Regions from separate parts of the Homo sapiens genome. Here regions 1, 2 and 3 are each linked to region 4. Evidence: promoter capture Hi-C in human tissues and cell types (Jung and others, 2019). All regions are on one chromosome and are shown on one strand. Each heading gives the region's core, a stretch centred on a gene start or on the middle of the fragment in contact. The rest is flanking DNA. Distances are from core to core; before and after follow the strand shown. Region 1 overlaps PCBP3 (poly(rC) binding protein 3). Region 2 overlaps COL6A2 (collagen type VI alpha 2 chain). Region 3 overlaps ADARB1 (adenosine deaminase RNA specific B1). Region 4 holds the start of PCBP3 (poly(rC) binding protein 3).

Region 1 (3,129 bases), core at 256-2,755, 260 kb after region 4:
TTTTTCACACATTTCTTCCAGAGTTTCCTGGTAGCCTGAGTGCATGGGTGATGCCCCCTGAGTTATTTATCAGGGGCAGCCAGCTGCCCTCCCCCGGGGCACTTACAGTCAGCCCATCTCTGTCCTGGTCAGGTGGGCGCCAAGGAAGACCCGGCTCAGGGCCTCTGTATGGGCAGCCTGGCTTGTACACACACCCCTCCCCACCAGCAGATTCTGAATTCTCCCTTCTTCATGCACACCGGGAAGGTCCCTTCTGCACTCATACCGGGAAGGTAGGCAGGTTTCGGTAGTGTCTGCCTCCAGTGTTTTCCTCCTCCTGCTCTATGACATCATCTTTCTGTGATTTTTTTTTTCTTGCAGGAAGTTGGAAGCATCATCGGGAAGGTAATTATTGATTGAATCTCTGCCTCTCCTGGGGTCTCTGTAAGGGGATGGTGAGGATGGCAGCCTCCCTGGGTACTAGGTGGCACCCAGTAGGTGCGCCTTTCCCAGTTGGTGGGTGGTCTGTGTTCCATGAAGACAGGACCCCAGAGGTGTCGCCTTTATGCTGTATGACATTGAAGCTGGTCCCTGGCTCTGCGTGGCCTGAGGGGAAGGGGTTCACTCCAGCTGGTCACCTCGCTGCCCCCTGCCCGTGGCCTTGGTGGCCAGTCCTTCTTTCCCGGTTGAAGACCCCACGAAGAATGATTTCTCACGCCTTCTTCAGCCGGCTGTGTAGTCTGGGTGGTCTCCAGGAGTGCCAGTGGAGGCAGCAGCCCCCAGACAATTCCTTTCCAAATCAGGGCTGGCCCGGGGGAAGTAAGGCCCAGTTTGGAAGCCTGCTGCCCCGGGAGGCCGAGCAGTGAGGGCCACCTCCCTGTCTTCATCACATTTTCACCGCTTCCGGGGGTCCTTCCCCTCAGTCCCACCATGGGGGCGCCTCTAGTAGCTCATTGTCCCGGCTTCCTCCCAAACGCTTGAGAGGGCGCGTCTCTGAGAGTCACCACCTCCGGGAGGCTGAGCCAGAGTGTAGCCGGCAATGCGGGGCGCCTGAGGGCACGCACACTGCCATGTGCCATGAGTGAGCTGCCATGGGGAGTCAGGTCAGACCTGCGCCACCCTTGCCAGCTGTGTGCCTGTAGGTGGGTGCACTTGCATTCCTGGGCCTCAGTTTCCCATCTGAAATGTCTGCCAGGGTGTGGTGGGCATGGAGCCTGGCCTTCTTAGTGGAGAGGCTGGTTTGCTCCTCCAGCACAGGCAGGAGGCTCTGCTGTGTGGGCGTATGGGCCAGGCTGCTCCCCACCCACCATGGGCCGCGCCGTCCTCAGAGCCAGAGGGATACCTTTTCCTTATTGTCTAAATCTTTATTCCAGAAAGGAGAAACTGTGAAGAAGATGCGTGAGGAGGTGAGTGTGGTGGGTCCCCACCTGTCCGCAGCCATTCCCGGGTGGGCGGGGTGGGTCCCCAGGCTCTGCCCCTGCCGACGTCCTGCCTGTGCTCTTGGCCAGCCGGGGTGTGTGGGGAGTGCAGTGCGGGGCCTCTTTTCCCCTACTCAGGCCTCCTGTGCTCCCCTGTGGGGAAGGAATCTGTTGGATTCCTTTTGCTAGTTAAAATTTCATTGTAAAGGAGATTGTTGAGAAGCATTTTACTGTTCATTCATGGTTTCCGTCAGCGGACAGAGGCATGTGTTTGTGTCAATTGTCAACGGACTTGCGGCCCCCGACCCACTGGCCCAAGGGTTTTAATCAGGTCGCTGGGGTTTCTCTGCTCTCACCTTAGAGTGGTGCAAGGATCAACATCTCAGAGGGAAACTGCCCAGAGAGGATTGTGACCATCACAGGCCCCACAGACGCCATCTTCAAGGCCTTTGCCATGATCGCATACAAGTTTGAGGAGGTAACCTGCACCCCAGGCACCTCTGCCAGCCTGGCGGGGGCAGGCCTGGTCCCAGCTGGCTCCCTGGGTCCTCTCCCCTACACCTGGACTAGGGGATGCCCCAGCCCGCCCAGGCAACCCCATAACTACGCTCACCTCCTTTGCCTCCCAGGGCCTCTCCGCAGCTCTGGTTCACCCAGTCAGGGGCCAGTGTCTCTCCATCCTTCTGAAGCCAGCTACTCCCGGCTGTATGCCTTAGGTCCACCTCCCTCAGCTTCCCCAGACCCTGCCCTGGGGCACCGAGCACGGCCTCAGAACACCCCACCCTTCCCCTGGGGCGTGCAGCCTGGCTGACCCTTGGGCCACACCAGCACCTCCAGCCTCCAGCCAGCTCTGCCACATGGCTCTCGATGAAGCCCTGGCTGGCACAGCCCTGGTCCTCAGCCACACAGCACCATGCCTCTGGGGCCCCCGTGACAGCTGATGTAGCCTTGCTGAGATACGGACGGTAAAGGTAGAGGCCATCCGTGATAGTGGATATGAGACAGAGACAGAGAGAGAGACAGAGAGAGAGAGGAAGACAGAGAGAGACAGAGAGATGAGAGAGAGAGAGGAAGACAGAGAGAGAGAGATGAGAGAGAGAGAGACAGAAAGAGAGAGAGACAGAGACAGAGAGAGAGCGAGGGGGAGAGAGCAGCACTTCTGTGTATTCTGTCATTGAATGAAATTTTAATGTCTTTATGTGTTTCTAATTTTCTTGAAATTGCTGGAAGTTAGAGATGCATTTAGTGTCTTTGAGGAGTGACCATTAAGTAATGAGGTGCACTTTGTGGGAATAAACAAAGACCCCTCCAAGGGAGAATGGGCAGAGGCTCTTTATTATCCAAAGCTGGCCATGGTGGGGGTCGGCGCCATCTTCTGTGCTTGGCAGAGACTCAAAGGCAGGCAGGAGGGGGAGCTTGGGAGTGGGAGAGAAGAGGAGAGATGTGCCCTGGGGCCAGCAGTAGGGCTAGAAGTGGGGCATCCCATGTGACTGGTTGGAGGAGTGTGCGAGGCCTTTTCCAGTGGGTCCTGAGTTGGAACTGGGGATGCACATGAGGGAAGCTGACTGCCCAGAGCCGACTGCAGCAGAGCCTGTGGCCTGGCCTCCAAGGCTGGACACTGCAGACACTGGGGCCAGTGTTCCCCTATCGTAGGTGGCCTGGCCTCCAAGGCTGGACGCTGCAGACACTGGGGCCAGTGTTCCCCTATCGTAGGTGGCCTGGCCACTGTCTG
Region 2 (3,062 bases), core at 144-2,643, 460 kb after region 4:
GACTGTCTTTATCGAATGGTCTTGACGGCTTGATTGAAAGTCATATATGCAAGGGTTTCTTTCTGGACTCTCTGTTTTATTCTGTTGGTCTGTATGTCTGTCTTTATGCCAGTGCCACACTGTTGATGACTGCAGCTTTGTAGTAAGTTTTGAAATTAGGACATGTGAGTCCCCCAGCTTTGTTCTTATCTTTCACGATTTTTTTTTTTTTTTTTTTTTTTTTTTTGGCTATTCGAGGTCCCTTGAGATTCCATCTAAATTTTAGGATTTATTCACTATTTCTGAAAAAAAAAACAATCACTGGGATTTTTATAGGGATTACATTAAACCTCTAGATCAATTTGGGTGGTATTGACATCTTAATATAGTAAGTCTTCCAATCTATGAACATGAATGTCTTTTTTTAAATGTCCTCTTCAATTTCTTTCAGAAATGTTTTGTAGTTCTCATTGTACAGGTCTTTCACCTCCTAAGTCAATTTTTAAGTATTTTATTATTTTTGATACTATAGTAAATAGAATTGTTTTCTTAATTTCCTTTGGATTGTTCATTGTTAGTGAATAGAAATACAAGTGATTTTTATGTGTTTACTATGTATTCTGCTATTTTGCTGAATTTGTTTATTAGTTGTAACAGTTTTTGTGGAATTTTTAGGGTTTTCTACATACAAGATCATATCATCAGTGATCAGAGATAATTTACTTATTTCTTTCCAATTTGAATGCCTTTAATTTCTTTTTCTTGCCCAATTGCTCTGGCCAGAACTTCCAGTACAGTGTTAAATAGAAGTAGTGAAAGCAGGCATCCTTCCTTTATTTCTGACCTTAGAGGAAAAGCTTTCAGTCTTTCACCACTGAGTATGATGTTCACTGTGGCTTTTTCGTATAATATGGCTTTTATTATGTTAAGGTTGTTTCCTTCTATTCCTAATTTGTTGAGTGTTTTTATCATGAAAGGGTATTGAATTTTGTCATATGGTTTCTCTGCATCAACTGCAATGATCATGTGTGAGTTTTTTTTCCTCCTTCATTCTGTTAATGTGTATTACATTGATTGATTTTTTTTTTTTTGTATGTTGAACTATCCTTGCACTCCAGAAATAAATCCTACTTGGTCAATTCATTAAATTCCATTTAATTGCATCAAATTATACCAAATTTAGTTTACTATTAATAGTATTTTGTTTAGGATTTTTGCATCAATGTTCATAAGGAAGACTGGATTGTAGTTTTCTTTTCTTGCAATATCTTTGTCTGGTATTGGTATCAGAGTAATGCTGGCCTCATAAGAATGAGTTAAATAGTGTTCCCTTCTCTTCAAGTTTTTTGAAAATTTTGGGAGGGTTTGGTGTTAGTTCTTTATGTGTTTGGTAGAATTCACCAGTGCAGCCATCAGGTCCAGAGGTTGTTTGTCAGGAGATTTTTGAGTATTGATTCAATCTCCTTACTAGTTATGTCTATTCAGATTTTCTATTTCTTCATGATTTGATTTTGTCTTGATAGGTTTTGTCTGTCTGGAAATTTTTCCATTCCATCTGTGTTATTCAAATTGTTGACATATAGTTGCTTATAGTACACTCTTATAATCTTTTTTATTTCTGTAGAATTAGTAGCAATGTTGCCACTTTCACTTATAATTTTAGTAATTTGAGTTTCTTCTTTTTTTCTTAGTCTAGAATCTAGCTTAAGGCTGGTCAATTCTGTTATCTTTTCAAAGAACCAACTTTTGTTGTCATTGATTTTCTCTATTATCTGTCTGTTCTCCATTTTGTTTATCTTTGCTCTGATCTTTATTTTTTCCTTCTTTCTGCTAGCTTGTTCTTTTTCTAGTTCCTTACATTGTAAGGTTAAGCTCCTATTTGAGACCTGTCTTTTTTAATATAAGCATGTATAGCCATCAGTTTCCCCCTTAGCACTGCTTTCACTGTCGAACAAGTTTTTAAATTTGTGTTTTCATTTTCACTCATCTCTAAGTATTTTATAATTTCCCTTGTGATTTCTTCTCTGATCCTTGGTTATTTAACAGGGTGTTGTTTAATTTCGTGATTTTTTAAATGTCCTTGTTGCTGATTTTTAACTTTACTCCTTTGTGGTCTGAAAAGATATCTTGTATGATGTAGATCTTTCAAAATCTATTGACACAGACTTTGTTGTTGCAACTAACCCCGTCATTGCAAGCCCTTCTCCGTCTGGTTGAAGTGACTTCCAGGAGATTTAAAGGGCTGGCACCCTTTTCTCCCTTCATTTTTCTCTTTTTCCTCTTTTGAGACGTAGACATTGAAGACTAGCACATTCAAAAGCAACCATATATGTGGAGAAAATAAAAAAGTCATTGCACATGCTCAGGGGAAGTCACGGGCTTAGAAAAGACCTAAGAAGACCTTAAGTTTATACTTTATGCTGATCCTTAGCACAGAGACAGCAACAATCAAAATTATAAAAACAAGAAAAACCAGCAAACTCTGGGGAAGAAAGAGATTTTGATTTCACAAGGCATACAAAGAAACTTTCCTATTTCAAAGGAAAAAAAAACAACAGAAACTGTCACTGAAAAAGACTTGGTGGTAGATCTACTAGACAAAGGCTTTGAAAGAACTATCTTAAAGATACTCAAATAACTAAGGGAAAATGTGGAGAAAGTGAAAGAAAATGTAGGAACAAATGAAAATATCAATAAAAAGCTAGAAATTTTAAAAAGAAACCAAAGGGAAATTCTGGAGCTGAAAAGTACAATAACTGAAATTTAAAATTCACTAGAGAAATGCAAAGGCAGATTTCAGCAGGCAGAATAAAGAATCAGGGAACTTGAAGATACAAAAATGGAAATTATTGAGTCTGAGGAGCAGAAATAAAAAGATTGAATAAAGGTGATCAGAGCCTAAGGGGTCTGTGGGATACCATCAAGCAAACCAACATAAACATTGTAGGAGCCCCAGAAGAAGAGAGAGCAAAGGGAGCAGAGAGACTATTTGAAGAAATAATGGCTGAAAACTTCTAAAATATGATGAATGACATGAATATAACCATCCAAGAAGCCCAAAAAGCTCCAAGCAGGATGAACTC
Region 3 (3,330 bases), core at 546-3,045, 430 kb before region 4:
TTTCTTCTTATATTCTTGGAAATTTTACAGTTGCAGTTTTTACATTTAAGACTATATTTCACTTGAGTTCATGTTTGTGTAGGGTATGAAGGATGAACTGAAGTTCATTTTTTGGCATGTAAGATATCCAGTTGATTTAGCACCATTTAGTGAAAGGTTCCTCATTTCTTCATGGAATTGCCTTGTGCCCTTGTCAAAAATCAGCTGGCATGTATATATACATGTGGGTCTGTTTCTGGACTCTGTTGTTTGCCTTTAATCTCTTTGTCTAAAGGCCAGTATTACATTGTCATGATTACTATAGTTTTATTATAAGTTTTGAGGTCAGGTAGAGTTAGTCTTCCAACTTTGTACTTTTTCAAAGTTGTCTTGGCTGCTTAGGTCCTTTTTGTATTTCCATAGCAATTTTATAGTCCACTCATCAGTTCTACATCCTTATTGCACTGGTTAGGACCTCCAGTACAATGTTGAGTAGAAGTGATGACAGCAGACATCCTTCTCTTACATGTCATCTTGGGGGAACACATTCAGTCTTTCACCATTAGGTATGATGTTGGCTGTAGGATTTTTTATTGCTGTTTTTTGTTTTAGAGACAAGGTCTCACTCTTTCACCCAGGCTGGAGTGCAGTAACGTGATCATAGCTCATTGTAACCTGAAACTCCTGGGCCCAAGTGATCCTCCTGTCTCAGCCTCCTGAGTAGCTGGGACTACAGGTGCATGCCACCATGCCTGGTTCATTTTTAAATTTTTTATAGAGACAATGTCTTCCTATGTTGCCCAGATTGGTCTTGAACTCCTGGCCTCAAGCAACCCGCCTGCCTCAGTCTCCCAAAGTGCTGAGATTATAGGAATGATCCACCATATCTGGCTGCTGTAGGTTTTTTACAGATGTCTTTATCAGCTCAAGACATTTTTTTTTTCTATTTATAGCTTACTCAGCGTTTTTAATCAAGAATGTATGCTGGATTTTGTCTGATGCTTTTTTTCTGCTCTTAGATGACTGTTGTCATTGCAGTGACTTAGGCCTATAGTCCCAGCTACTTGGGAACTAAGGCAGGAGGATCACTTGAGCCCTGGAGTTTGAGGCCATCCTGGGCAATGTAGTGAGACCCCATCTGAAACAACAACAACAAAAAATGAGATGAGCATTTAGTTCATTTTTCAGTTTGCTAGTGGTGACGTTAAAAAAAAATTAAACCAACTTTGCATCTTGGGATAAACGTTATATGGTTATTATGTGCTATTCTTTTTATATATTGTTGGATTCAGTTTGCTAAAATTTCATTTAGAATTTTTGTATTTATATTTGTCTGTAGGGATATTGGGCTATCATTTTAGTTTAATGTCTTTGTCAGGCATAAAATGAGTTGGGGTGCATTTCTTTCTCTTCAGTTTTCTGGAAGAGTTTGTTTGGATTTGGTATTATTTCTTTAAATATATGGTTAAATTCACCAGTGAAACCATTGGGCCTGAAGTTTGCTTTGTAAGAAAATTCTAACTACAATTTATTTTTCTATAATAGATTTAGGGCTATTCATGTTATCTGTTTTTATCTTTTTTCTTGAGTAAGCTTCAGTAATTTGTCTTTCAGGGAATTTGTCCATTTCATCTAATTTGTCTAATATATTGGCATAAAAGCATTCAGAATATTCATTTTAATATCTGTGATATCTCTAATGATATCGTCTTATCCCTTATATTGATGATTTGTATCTTCTCTTGGTTGTTTTTTTCTGATCAGTCTAGCTGGAAGTTTTTCAATTCTGTTTGTCTCTAAGTGCCAACTTTTAGGTTCAGTGATTTTTGTCTTTTGTTTTATATTTCAATAATTTTTACTCTGATTTTAATTATTTCTTTTTTTTCCGCTTACCTGGTGTTTCAATTGCCCATCTTTTTGTAGTTTTTTAAGGTGCTAGTTGAGGTCATTGTTTTAAGACCCTTTTTACTGCTTTTGTAGCATTTAAAAATTATGATATGTTTTCATTTTCACTTATATTAAAATACTTTGTCCCTTGGGTTATTTAGAAGTCTGCTATTTAGTTTCAAAATACTAGGGATTTTACAGAGATCTTTCTGTTGTTGGTTTTTTAGTTTCATTTAATGACTTCAGTCCTTTTAAATTTATTAGACTTGGTTTTATGGACCAGAATATGATCTATCTTTATAAGTGTTCCACAAAACTTGAAAGAATGTGAATCTGCCACTTTGGGGTAGAGTGATCTGTAAATGTTGATTAGGCCAAGTTGTTTGATTATACTATTTATTTTCTTTTATATTCTTACCGATCTTCTACTTGGTCTATCAGTTATTGAGAGGCAGGATTGAAAATCTCTTAGTTATAATTGTACATTATCTATTTCTTCCCCTTTTTTAGAGTTTTTACTTCCTGTATTTTGTAGCTCTGTGATTAGATGCATAAAAATGTAGGATTGTTGGTTTATCTTAATAAACCGACCTCCTTTACCATTATATGATGACCCTCTTTATTTCTGGTAATAGTGTTTGTTCTGAAATTTGTTTTGAGATTAATATAACCTCCTCAACTTTCTTTTGATTAGTGTTAGCACAGTGTATCTTCTATCCCTTTATATTAAAGTACTTTATCTTAAAAATATGTTTCTTATAGACATATATTTATATATATTTATATGTTTGGATCTTGCTTCTCTCTCCCACCATGGACAATCTCTGCCTTTTCACTGAGGTACTTAGACCATTTACATTTATTGTGATTATTGATATTATTAGGTTTAAATTTCATCTTGCTACTTATTTTCTACGTGTTTCATATGTTCTTTGTTCACTTTTTCCTCATTTTCTTACTGCTTTTGCCTTAATTGGGTGTGTTTGATGATTCCATTTTGACTCCTTCTTGACTTTTGAGCTGTAACTTTTGTTAATTTGGTGGTGGTTTTTAGGGTTTATAGTATGCATTCTTACCACGATCTCCCTTCAAGTGATATTATACTACTTCACATATAGTAAAAGAACCTTACAACAGGATACTTTCGTTTTTCCATTCCCAACCTTTGTGGTATTGTTTTCAGACACTTTTGCATGTGTTAAAAAAATCCACATCTTATTATTTTCATCTTAATAATTATCTTTTAAAGGAATTTAAATAATAAGAAAAAAACCTCTTGTATATTTATCCATGTAGCTATCATTTCCAGGGCTCTTCATTCTTTGTATAGATCTGGATTTCCATTTTGGTATCATTTTTTCTTCTGGCTGGAGGACTTCCTTTTACATTCCTTGTAGCACAAGTCTTCTGATGATGAATTATTTCAGCTTTGGTATGTCTGGGAAAGTATTTTGCTTTCATTTT
Region 4 (2,997 bases), core at 293-2,792:
GGGTGCTCGGGGGGCCGCGTGGGGTCTGTGACGTCGCCTCGAGGCTGCATCCCGGTGACCCGGCAGCCCCTGGCGCTCGCGGGAGGCGGGCGGGCGCGGACCCCAGGCTTTAGGGCGCGATTCCTGCAGCTGGCTGCCGGCCCGAGGTTCTGGGGTGTCTGAGGTCTCGGGCGGGGCGAGGACGTTTCTCCGGCTCAGCCCCCCCACCTCCTGCCCTGCCGCCCCCCACACCCAGCTCCCCACGGACGCCAAGAGGCGCCTCCCACCCCGGCGAGGACCCGCGGGGAAACGGGGCCCAGGCGCGGCGACTGCGGAGGACGCGCCTCGGCCCCAGCGCCCTGGTCCTCGGGGCGTCCGGCTGCCCTTGCCCGAGGCCGGGGCGGGCGCTCAGCGCCGCGGAAGAAACGCCCGGGCGGGGACGCACAGCGAGGCGGGCTCCGCGGGAAGTACCGGGAAAACGGCGCGGAGCGGAACAGCCCGGAGCCAGCCCAGAGAAAGGGCGGCCTCCCCCTGCAGCCCCCGGGGCCCAGCAACGCCCCGCCCCAGGCCACGGCACGCGAACGCCGGGCGGGCGGAGGGGACAGGGCGGCGGGACCAGCGCGGGGCGGGCAGCGTCTGGGCACAGGCTCACGAGCCGCTCGGGGCCCCTGCCCGCCGGGCGCTGCGGCCCCAGCCTCCGGGCCGGGGCCAGGCCCACAGAGAACGGGAAGCGGGCGCTGCAGGGGGACCTTCGGGGTTGCGGCACGGCTGGGAATTCAACGGCCATTCCCGTCCCGTCGGGCCCACCCGCCCGCCCGCCAAATCCCCGCCCACCGCGGATCCGCCCCGTCCACCAAGGTCTCGCTCACCAACGGCCCGCCCCGCCCACCACAGGCCTGGCCCGCCCACGAAGGCTCGCCCCGCCCATCCACGGCCCTGCCCACCACAGGCCCGCCCCAAGCCTGGGCCCCGCCCCAGCAAGGGCACTAATCCCCTAACCCCCGAGCCCCGCCCACTGCTCTTGCCCTTCTCCCGCCCGCCCCGACTTAGGCCTCTCCCCGGCCTGGCCTCCCGTACTCAGCCCCGCCCCTGCCCCGCCCCCACCCCACCCCAAATGTGACCTGCCCCTCCCACTGCCCGTCCCCTCCCCGCTTCACTTCATTAGGCCCCCGCCCCGATTCTTGCCCCGCCCGCTCAATGTCCCGCCTACGACCCCGCCCACTACTAGTGACCGGCCCGCCCGTTCGAGGCCCCGCCTCCTCCCCGCCCAATGCTCGGCCCCGCCCCGCGCGTCATTGGGCCAGGTCCCCGCCCCGCCCCCAGCCCCACCCCCGCCCCTTTGACTGGAGTTGGCTTTTTCCAGAGAACTTTCCGGGCTCGGATTGGCCGCGCCGGTTGATGTTCCGCCCTTTCATTGGCCCGCGGCGCCCGCTTTCGCGAGCCTGCCCTTGGGCGGGGGCGGGGCCGGCGGCGGCGCGCGGCGCTAGATTGGTTAGCGGCGCAGAGGGGCGGGCCCGCGCCGCGCGCAGCGCTCGGGCTGGAGCGCCTGAAGCCGCGACCGCCGCCTCAGCCGCCTCAGCCGCGGTCGCCGCCGCTTCGGCTGACTTAGGCTCCGCCGCCGCCTCCTCACCCGCCTCGCCCCGACCCCGCCCGGGCCTCCCGGCCTCTCCCCGCCGGCCCGCGGGCTCGCCGTCCGGCGCAGGGCAGGTGAGTGAGCGGTGGCGGGCGGGGTCGGGGTCGGGCGCCCTTGCGGGTTACGGGGACCCAGTCCCCGACGGAGGCCGAGTGACGGGGCGACCCCGGGCCGCGGCAAACTTCGCCCGAGCCGGGGCGGGCGGGGGTCCCGGGCTGGGTCGCGCCGTCCCCGACCGCCGCCGGCGCCTGCGGCGGCCCGGGGCAGCGAGGGGACTCGCGCTCCCTCAAGGTGCGGTCGCCAGGCCTGGCCCGCCCGCCTCCGCCCCCTCCCCAAATTCGGAAGTTGCGGCGGGAAGCCGAGAACGTCTCGGATGTGGGTCAGAAAACGTCTGGACTACTTGAGGCTTCAGTTTCAAAACGGCACAAATTTCATCTCTTGATTGAGAAGAGATCTGGGGAACACCCCGGAGCGGCCGCGGCGGCTGGAGGGCGGCGGGGCGGGGCGCGGGGCCTCCTCCCCCTGGACGGCCGCCGGGAGAGCGCGGCCTCACCCCTCGGTGACCCTGCGGAGAGCCGCGCGCGGGCGGTGGGGCGCGCGCAGGTCTCTCTTGTTGCTCGCTGTGTTTTATTTTAATTTTGGGGGTGGTTAGAACGTGTTTCTTATTGTCCCCACACGTGTTCTAATTGGAAGTCTTGTTTCGTGAAAGAGTTTTTTTCTTTTTTTTGCCTGGTGATGTTTTCCAATTCCCTCCGCGCCACTCTGAAGTATATTACTGGCATAAGAAATTTGAAAGTTAACCAAAAGTCGGGTCCTAAATCTCGTGGCTCGGGGTTGGTTATCTTCCACCGTCCTTCAGAGCAGCCTGGATTTGCAGGTCTTGTTAGCCCTCCATGTGAGCCAGTAGCACTCTTAGTTGTTGAGTGTTTGTAGAGTGGGATTCGCCAGAAGGAATCTTGAGCAGCAGGGCCTTGCGGAGAGGCCTTTAGAGATTAGACTGGGCAACTTATAGACTCCCCCCATTTCAAAAATATTCCTCTGGCACAGGCCCTCACATATCCCTCTGAAATTGAACTCACTTTCAGGGGCAAACTGTTGCCCTTTTTCTTTTCTTTGGACTTTCTCAGATGTGGATCCCAAAGGAGTGTGCAAGGGTGCTTCCCTATTTAAGAGAACTAACTCCCAGTCCTCCTCATATTCAAGAATAATTCATCATCTTAAAGCGTGTCAGAGATACCTATTTTGGCCCCAAAAGGAGTGTTTGTAGAACAGTGGCACTCTAAAGGGATCATTTGCAAGATCTGAAAGGACCTAATTGATCATCACACGACAGAAGCAGAAATAGTTCTGGTGTTTTCAGGCTTGGAGATCTGTCAGAAAACATG

The links. The method cuts DNA at HindIII sites, captures the fragments that hold promoters and counts their contacts. A contact is called where the count stands out against the background at its distance.
Region 1: a fragment that was not itself captured here is called in contact with the fragment with the promoter of PCBP3 in region 4 in 3 of the 25 tissues and cell types used here (H1 embryonic stem cells, IMR-90 fibroblasts and lymphoblastoid cells).
Region 2: a fragment that was not itself captured here is called in contact with the fragment with the promoter of PCBP3 in region 4 in 1 of the 25 tissues and cell types used here (dorsolateral prefrontal cortex).
Region 3: a contact is called between a fragment that was not itself captured here and the fragment with the promoter of PCBP3 in region 4, in 1 of the 25 tissues and cell types used here (dorsolateral prefrontal cortex).

The regions. Positions count from the first base shown.
Region 1 is chr21:45,899,239-45,902,367 of GRCh38, forward strand. PCBP3 (poly(rC) binding protein 3) reads left to right here. Exons shown (of 18, transcript NM_001384156.1): 7 at 361-384; 8 at 1,353-1,385; 9 at 1,759-1,875. Among named protein-coding and RNA genes, the nearest start is that of PCBP3-AS1, 64 kb to the left of the region's middle. The HindIII fragment of the contact is 8,314 bases long and covers 1-3,129 here.
Region 2 is chr21:46,101,650-46,104,711 of GRCh38, forward strand. The region is part of intron 1 of COL6A2 (collagen type VI alpha 2 chain); the gene reads left to right. Among named protein-coding and RNA genes, the nearest start is that of COL6A2, 5.1 kb to the left of the region's middle. The HindIII fragment of the contact is 3,224 bases long and covers 1-3,005 here.
Region 3 is chr21:45,214,476-45,217,805 of GRCh38, forward strand. All of the region lies in intron 9 of ADARB1 (adenosine deaminase RNA specific B1), which reads left to right. Among named protein-coding and RNA genes, the nearest start is that of LINC00334, 18 kb to the right of the region's middle. The HindIII fragment of the contact is 3,297 bases long and covers 148-3,330 here.
Region 4 is chr21:45,642,183-45,645,179 of GRCh38, forward strand. It overlaps PCBP3 (poly(rC) binding protein 3), which reads left to right and starts at 1,543. Exons shown (of 18, transcript NM_001384156.1): 1 at 1,543-1,686. RefSeq lists silencers at 748-1,737, 2,058-2,197. The HindIII fragment of the contact is 13,348 bases long and covers 1-2,997 here.